Regions from separate parts of the Homo sapiens genome. Here all the other regions are linked to region 1. The links are contacts of gene promoters, found by promoter capture Hi-C in blood cells and fetal thymus (Javierre and others, 2016). All regions are on one chromosome and are shown on one strand. Each heading gives the region's core, a stretch centred on a gene start or on the middle of the fragment in contact. The rest is flanking DNA. Distances are from core to core; before and after follow the strand shown.

What was found. The method cuts DNA at HindIII sites, captures the fragments that hold promoters and counts their contacts. A CHiCAGO score of 5 or more calls a contact.
Region 2: a contact is called between a fragment that was not itself captured here and the fragment with the promoter of NEK5 in region 1, in 2 of 17 cell types (total CD4 T cells and total CD8 T cells). The highest score is 7.5, in total CD4 T cells.
Region 3: a contact is called between a fragment that was not itself captured here and the fragment with the promoter of NEK5 in region 1, in 2 of 17 cell types (neutrophils and total CD4 T cells). The highest score is 6.4, in neutrophils.

The regions. Positions count from the first base shown.
Region 1 is chr13:52,127,811-52,130,510 of GRCh38, reverse strand. It overlaps NEK5 (NIMA related kinase 5), which reads left to right and starts at 1,438. Exons shown (of 24, transcript NM_001365552.1): 1 at 1,438-1,482. It overlaps LOC101929657 (a long non-coding RNA gene), which reads right to left and starts at 1,616. Exons shown (of 2, transcript NR_110306.1): 1 at 1-1,616. The HindIII fragment of the contact is 11,669 bases long and covers 1-2,700 here.
Region 2 is chr13:51,407,756-51,410,455 of GRCh38, reverse strand. All of the region lies in intron 4 of INTS6 (integrator complex subunit 6), which reads left to right. Among named protein-coding and RNA genes, the nearest start is that of INTS6, 44 kb to the left of the region's middle. The HindIII fragment of the contact is 1,192 bases long and covers 746-1,937 here.
Region 3 is chr13:51,389,472-51,392,171 of GRCh38, reverse strand. All of the region lies in intron 5 of INTS6 (integrator complex subunit 6), which reads left to right. Among named protein-coding and RNA genes, the nearest start is that of MIR5693, 42 kb to the right of the region's middle. The HindIII fragment of the contact is 3,957 bases long and covers 1-2,700 here.

The DNA.
Region 1 (2,700 bases), core at 189-2,688:
TTGTAGCAAGAAGTTAGCATTCATCTATGGATACAGGAACTAACGGTGCATGGGAAGCCCATCCAGGTCTTAAAGAGATGAATTTTCAATACAATTTTATTTTTTATATTTAATAATTATCAGTATTGTGATACATTTTATTGTGATCAATTGTGTAGTACTAGTAATTTTAACAATTTAATCCAGAAAAACTAAAATTCTATGAGCAGGAAATATAAATTTCCATTTCTGTACTTCTTTCAGCAGTATGATAGGATGATCAATAAGACTTTCAAGTATGAAAAAGATAACGGGTAAAATTCTATCAGGAAAGTAGAATGAAGATATGATTTAATGAAGCATGTCTAAGAATTCTAGGGAAGAAATTTGGGTGTGGTCACTGACACGTGTAATTAAACAAAAACAAGTAGATCATATACCTACTAATATTTTGAGGGAATTTCACTGCCAAAGAAACTAACATTGGATATTCCAACTGCTAAACAACTTTTGGACTCCTGCTACGGGCTGCATTCACCCCCGCCGCGGCCACCCCCAATTCACACACTGAAATCTAACACCAATAACTAATAATGAGACTATATTCGGAGACAGAGACTTTAAAGATGCAATTAGATCAAAATGAGGCCTTTAGTTCAGCCCTAATCCAACTTGACTAGAGTGCTTACAAGAAGAAGAAATTTTTTGTGGCAGGGACGGGGAGGGGGCGGCGGAGAGATGATTTTAAGAAGGAAGAGTAATGATGTAAACTTAGGATTTTTAAGAGTTTTTTGTGGGTTTTTTTTGTGTGTGTGTGTGAGGTGGACGATGGAGGGTACCATATTACTGTAGTGTTTCGATTCAGTTGGATATATTTAACTTGCGTCACTATTTACAATTGCTGAAAATTACATTTTTTTCAACTACTTAAACATTTTAGACAGCAGCTTGATGTGCAAATCCAGAATGGGGCAGGGTGGGATGAGCACTGGGCGTGAGTGCAGACGCTTGGGCAGCGCCGGTTTCGTTAGAAAGTCCCTTGGCAGGCCGCCGCTGTGGCCCAAAGAGTAGGAAGCCGTTCCAGTCTCACGTCCACCTTTTGGCAATATTTGAGACCTTGTACAAGAAACACTCTTCCTGTATCAGTTTAGCTCATTTGTAAAACTGGGAGACTACTGCCTTGACGGGTTGTAAAGAAAAGAGAGAACGTTTGCGAAGCGTCTGGTGCACCTTAAGCAAGAGCGGGGAGCGCTACTGTAGACTGCAAAGCAAAGGAATCCCGACCCAAGGCAACGGGACGGTTGCGGGGTGACTCTGCCGGGTCTCCAAACTCCCTGGCGCCTGACCCTGCCTCGAGGTGGACTGGTCCCCAGGCCATTCCAGACCCGCGCCCCGCCCGCGTTTCCTTGCGCGGCTCCGCCCCGGCCGCAGGGAGGCGCAGCGGCCCCGGGAACCCGGATCCTTCCGGGACGCTTCGTTGGCCCCGCGGAGCCGGCGGAGCAGGTACGCTTGCAGGGGCCGCCCTTAGTTCTTGCCCGGAGCCGCCACAGGGCTTCGGGAGCTCGGCAGGGTGGGGGAAAGGGATGGAGTTTCGGCCTGGGGCGGCGGGGGCGGCCCAGAAAAGGCCTAGCGTCCTGGGCTGTGTGGGTGTAGCGTCCAGGGCGCGTCGGTCTCTATGGCAACGCTCCACACGCGGAGGTCGGGTACGGGTAAGCGTCTTGCCACTCACCCGCGGCCGCTTCCAGGGGCGGCCCTAGGGGAGAAGGAATTTTCCTAATTTGGGGGCTTCCACCCTTTGGTGCCACTTGGGCGGGAGGGTCGCGGGCCCTCAGTTCCCGGCGAGTCACCCCCGGCCCCAAGTCCGTATGCGTCTCTCTCAGAACCCGATCCTCCGGTGTCTGCAGCCTCTCCTGGCTGCGGAGCTGGTTCCCAGCCCCCTGCAACCCAGTACCGACTTCCCACCCTGACGTAAAATTATTCGAAAACAAGCCCCCTGCTCACCCCATTAACAACAACAACAAAACTGTATTATGCCCTAACTGTAGCATAAAGAGGAAATAGAAGGAAAGCAATAAGTAAGAAAGTACATATTTCAATCTGAAAATGCTTGGCACTACTACCCTTGGAAAATGTAGAGAAGTAGCCAGTAGCCGCGCCTGGGGAGTCGCCTGAACGTGACGGCAGCAAATGCAGATTGTTGGGTCTCCGGGACCAGGAGCAGCGTGGCCAGTGAAGCGCGTGGTTTTCCCAAATGGTGAACAATTCTTGGTAAACCTCCAAACCGAAGTGCAATCAAGCCTTGATTTACATGTAGTTGCATTCCTCGAAAAAAAAAAGAAGTGTTCATTAAAACTGCAAAAATACTTAGCATTTCGATGTAAAATAGAGTTTGGTTCTAGCCACAAACGGATTTTTCCACGCACAGGAATGTATAGGAAGACTCTCCAAGATTGTAGGGCCGCGGGGTAATCCTTTATTGTGCGGGACTGTCTCTCGAATCGCAGAATCCTACCATCTCAGGCCCCAACCACCTGTAAACCTCATGCCTCTGAATCTTGGGGAAACAGCTTCCCCACCCCCATATATTTCCAGAATTCCCCCTAGGGGGCAGTACGTCCCCACTAAGAAAGGCTGAACTATAAAAGTGCACAAGCCTAAGGACATTCCTGCTTTATAAAGGTGCGAAACACCGGATATAGTATCTTTCATTCTCAGAACAAA
Region 2 (2,700 bases), core at 92-2,591, 720 kb after region 1:
GCTGAAGCATCTTTATTGAGTCAATTAGCCATGTTTTTGTGTGGCTGTTTCTGGACTTTCTATTCTGTTTTGTTGATAACCTGTGTCTTCGGCAATACAACATGGTGTCAACTACTGTGGTTTTATAACGAGTTTTGAAATCATTTAGTTAAGTCTCCAACTTTGTTTTTATCCAAATTGCTTTGTTTATTCTAGGTCCTTTGAGTTTACATGTAAATTTAGAATCAGGTTTATTAGTTTTTATAAGAAAGCTTACTGCAATTTTTATTGGAATTACATTGAATCTATAAATCAGTTTGAGGGAAAAATGACACTTTTTACCTTATTGGCTATTCTGATCCATGAGCATGGCATATTTTTCAGATTTAAGTGTTTGATTTTTTCAGCAATATTTGTAGTTTTCAGATGGGAGTTTATACATATGTTGGGTATTTTATATATTTTGATGTTATTATTGATTGGTCTTTTTACTTTCAACTTCTGATGATTTGTTGTTAGTACATAAACAGTTGATTTTTTTGCATCTTTACCTGGTATCCTGTGACCTTTCTAAATTTTCTTGTTACCTAGTAGCTTTTCTAGATTCCTTGAAGCTTTTTACGTACAAAATCATCTTGTCTGAATATAGACAGGTACACTTCTTCCTTTCCAAATCTGTCTGCCTTTTATTTCTTTTTCTTGCTTCAATGTACTGGTGGAAGTAGTGAGAATGGACATTGTTGTCTTGTCTTGAAATCTAGAAGCTTAACATTAATTTGTTAACATTAACATTTAATTTTAAGGAACACCAATTGTTCCTTAAAATTAAAAAAAATACTACCTATGATGAATTAGCATTGTAACAAAAAAAATACAAATAATAAATTACCTAACCTATATCAGACAGCACAAATAAAGGCAGTTGACATTGCCAAATTTCTGAGAAAACAAATAAAACTATCAAAGCTATGAGATGGTATCATAACTGTTTCACTGACTATGAAAAACTGTTACTGAGGAATCTAATATCTGTCCAAAGCCAACATTTAAAAGATAAGTGTTATATTGGCTGGTAGTTTGTAATTGAAATAAGAATATAAATATTCTCCTAGAAAGTACGAATGAAATACTCAGAGTCTTTAGTATACCTTGAAGTTATACTATTATTATTATTATTATTATTATTATTATTATTATTATTATTATTATTATTTGAGACGGATTCTCACTCTGTCACCCAGGCTGGAGTGCAGTGGTGCAATCTCGGCTCACTACAACCTCTGCCTCCACTGTGCCCAGCTGAAATTACATTTTTCAAACTCATGGTGCTAAAAAGGTCAAGATCATTAAGCACACGTTATAAAATATGACCCTGATGCTCTGCTTAACTTCTAATGGCCAAAAGGAATTTAATTAGTAGACTTAGTCTGGGGAAGGCGTAGACTCAAACTCTGTGATACTCAAATGCTATGGAGCTATGATATGGAAGAAGAAAGGGATATGCAGCTGCCTAGATAATTTTATGCTATAGTTGGAAAAATTTTTATGCACATTTAATGTTAAATTTGGGGAAGCAAAGAAATATATTAAAGTGATGATACACCTTAGAATTTAAGTTATAGGTTTTAGGTTTGTTGGAGGATTAAATAAGATGATTAAAGCAAGGTAACTCATTGAAACCTTGTCACATTATAAGCATTCAGTAAATGATGAATTATCAGTCTCTTAACTTGTGTGATTATGGGCAATATTTGGTGTGGTCAAAAGGTCTTTAAGTTTTTTTCCTACTTCTTTGAGTTATCAAGAAAGAGATTATTATTTTTTAATACAACCTAGTTTCACAAATAGGGACATACATAACATACTACAGAAGGTTTCTGTTGATGTTTTTGTGCTTGAGGCATTAAGTGCTCTCAGTTACCTGGAAAAATAATGGCTCTCCAAAATGATTCAAAGCTTTTCCTTTATAATTTTTAAGATTCCTGGCCAATGTGCTTTAAATGAACTTTCTGACTTATTAATAAAACTCAATGACCGGGTGCAGTGGCTCTTGCCTGTAATCCCAGCACTTTGGGACACCAAGGAGGGTGGATCACCTGAGGTCAGGAGTTCAAGACCAGCCTGGCTAACATAGTGAAACCCCGTCTCTACTAAAAATACAAAAAGTTAGCTGGGCATGGTGGCAGGCGCCTGTAATCCCAGCTACTCGGGAGGCTGAGGAAGGAGAATCACTTGAACCTGGGAGGCAGAGGTTGCAGTGAGTCGAGATTGCACCACTGCACTCCAGCCTGGGCAACAAGAGCGAAACTCCATTTCAAAAAAAAAAAAAACCCATCTCAATGGTTTATTCTAGTCTAAATGTTTTATGGTAGATTCTGAATAATTTGGGCTATTATTTAACAATTATCTATAGTTATACTTTAGCATTGAAAATGTTATTGTACTTTTTTTTTTTTTTTTGAGACCGAGTCTCACTCTGTTGCCCAGGCTGGAGTGCAGTGGCACGATCTTGGCTCACTGCAACCTCTGCCTCTTGGGTTCAAGCGATTCTCCAGCCTCAGCCTCCCGAGTAGCTGGGATTACAGGCGTGTGCCACCATGTCTGGCTAATTTTTGTATTTTTAGTACAGACGAGCTTTTGCTGTGTTGGCCAGACTGGTCTCAAACTCCTGGCCTCAAGTCCCAAATTGCTGGGATTTAGGCATGAACCACTATGCCTGGC
Region 3 (2,700 bases), core at 84-2,583, 740 kb after region 1:
TACCACTTCACCTGTTAGATGAGAATATAGAGTGGCAAGAATGAAAGCAGGAAGACTAGTAGTAGTACTTTGTTCTATGCTAGCTTTGGAGGTCCTGAGAGGTGGCTTAATGCAAAAGAGAACCAAGGATGAGGACAATAAGGGAAGAAGCAATCCAGGATGGTTCCCAGATGATTCAGTTGGTCCGAACCACTAGAGATGGATGGCTGTGCCAAGGACTGAGATGGTACACTGGGGAGAAGCAGGTTTAGGGGAGGTGCAAGGATGATAGCAAATTTTAAAATGTGTAATAGACATGTTGTTAAATATATCAAGAATTTTTTAAGTATTTTATAAAAATTATAGATATTTCTAGATTAAATACATTTAACTTTCTTAGCCTCTGTAAGGACTATTGACCAACTTAGAAATGTTCATTTGCTTCTTCTCTATTTGACAAAGATGCTAATACTGCCTTTAGACTCACTATATTTAGTTTGACTTTTTTGTGGACTCTACATAACCCAAAGTGAGACAGCTTCTTGACTTGAAGGTGTGTGCTAATAAAACTTTTTTCACAAATACAAGTAGTGATCCTAGAAACTTTATGCATTAGCACAAAGTGTTGTATATCCCAAGGAGTAAGTTTTGACATAGACAATAAGTACACATGAGGAACATTACGGAGGATATAGGCTCACTTTGTAAAGAAAGCAAAATTTGCTATTTCTGTTTAACTTTTAAAATAATTAATAGATTTTTATTACCAAATGACTCATTTTATTCTTTTTCTCCAATTTTTGTAAAATATACTGATTAGTAATTTTATTTCGTGTTAAGATTGATTTGCTTATGTTTTCTTAATTGATGACACAACTTAGGAGAGCAAGATAATTGTCATAGTTTATATACTTTAAAATTTTTGCTTTTTAATGACATCTTAGGAATATGCTTAAATTTCATGAAATAAGATACTCAACCTTTATGTAAACTTCTAATATTTTGCATGTAAAGATGGTTAGCCTTTTTATGGATTGCTTTTTGTATATACTTAAATTGACTTAGAAAAAAATTTGAATTTACCAATTCTTTCAAGTAAGCATGACTTCATATAGATGCTGTATTTTAAGTACTGATTTCAAATTCACAGAGGATTTCCAAGGGACAAAGGATATCCAGAATAGTTTCTGATACACTGTAAGGGTTTGAATTGTAACTCTATCACTATACTAACTTGGAAAAGTTAGTTAGCCTCTCTGTGCCTTAGTGTTCTCATTTGTAAAATGGGGAAAATAACCCATACAATTGTTGCTGAGATTAAAGAAATTAATAATCATAAAATGATTGGAACAGTGCCAGGCACGTAGATACTCAGTAATTGGTAGATATTTGTTAAGGTTATAATCATCATTATTTTATACAGTTAAGTTGTTGTATTTATTTTTTCTAAGTAAAGCTGACTTTGAGGATTTGAATCACCATTGTCTATAATGTTCTCTTTTCTGAGTAGCCTTTAACAAATCACGTTAAGTGTAAGTTGATATAAGTAATTTGATGTGTCAAATGTAATGATGTAGCTTGTGTTGTGAAATAATTGGTTGAATGTGTAAAAGAGTAGGGCATCATATTGAGCTTATTACAAATAATGTTGCAAAATATTTGGCCAAAGATTGAGTTTTAGCTGTCAAGGTTTTTAGTGTTGGTCTGGATCAGAACTGTATAATAGAAATCTGATTCAAATTTCATATGTAATAAAAAATTTCATAGTAGCCACTTTAAAAATTAAAAATAGATGAAATTAATTTTAATAATATATTTTATTTAAATCAATATATCCTTATTACTTCAGTGTGAGATTGATATTTTAAAATTACTAATGAGATGTTTTATATTTTTTCATACTAAGTCAACAAAATCAGGTGTATATTTTACTTACTATACATTTCAATTCAGACTAGCTATATTTCAAGTTCTCAATAGCTACATGTGTCTAGTATATAAAGTATTGTATAGCAAAGGTCTAGATATTTTTGTTGAAAATTCCTCTTTAAAAGATCTTTTCACTGGTATCTTTTTAAAAAAATCACTAGTATTTAATGCTTCTGAACCAAAAGTAGTATAAGTTAAAACGTACAAAAGGGGAATTCACGTGAGACAGGTAATTCCCAAGTGTTTACATAAGCTAAGTGAAATTCAGAAAAGCACACGCTACCATCTGTATATTAAAATGCAAATATTTAAAATACTTAAAAACTGCCAGTAAACAAGTAGTTATTACATACCTACTATGTGCACAGTAAATCTTAGTGATAATACTTTTGTTAAGCAGGAATAAGATTTTGGGGAGACAGTTACTAGATGTGTGTGTGTATATGTGTTAAAGATAAATTGTATTGCATAACAGTTGGAGATAGTGTTTTTTATATATATGTTTTAAAAAACATAAAATATGTGACTTGTTTTCATGTGTTTTGTTCAGACCAAGAATTCTATGTTCCAAATACCTGTAATTAGAAGAAAAAATGTACATACTCTCACAAAATGGGATTGTTGGTTGGTTGGAAATAATGATTTTTGTGCATTCTTTCATAAGATAATGAAATTAGTCAACTTTTACCATTGAACTTTTGTTAATTAGTACTGTCAGAAACCCCACAGTTGTTTTTTTCTTGCTAATGATAGGAATTCTTGCAACTAACTAGTTTACTATATTCTTCTTCT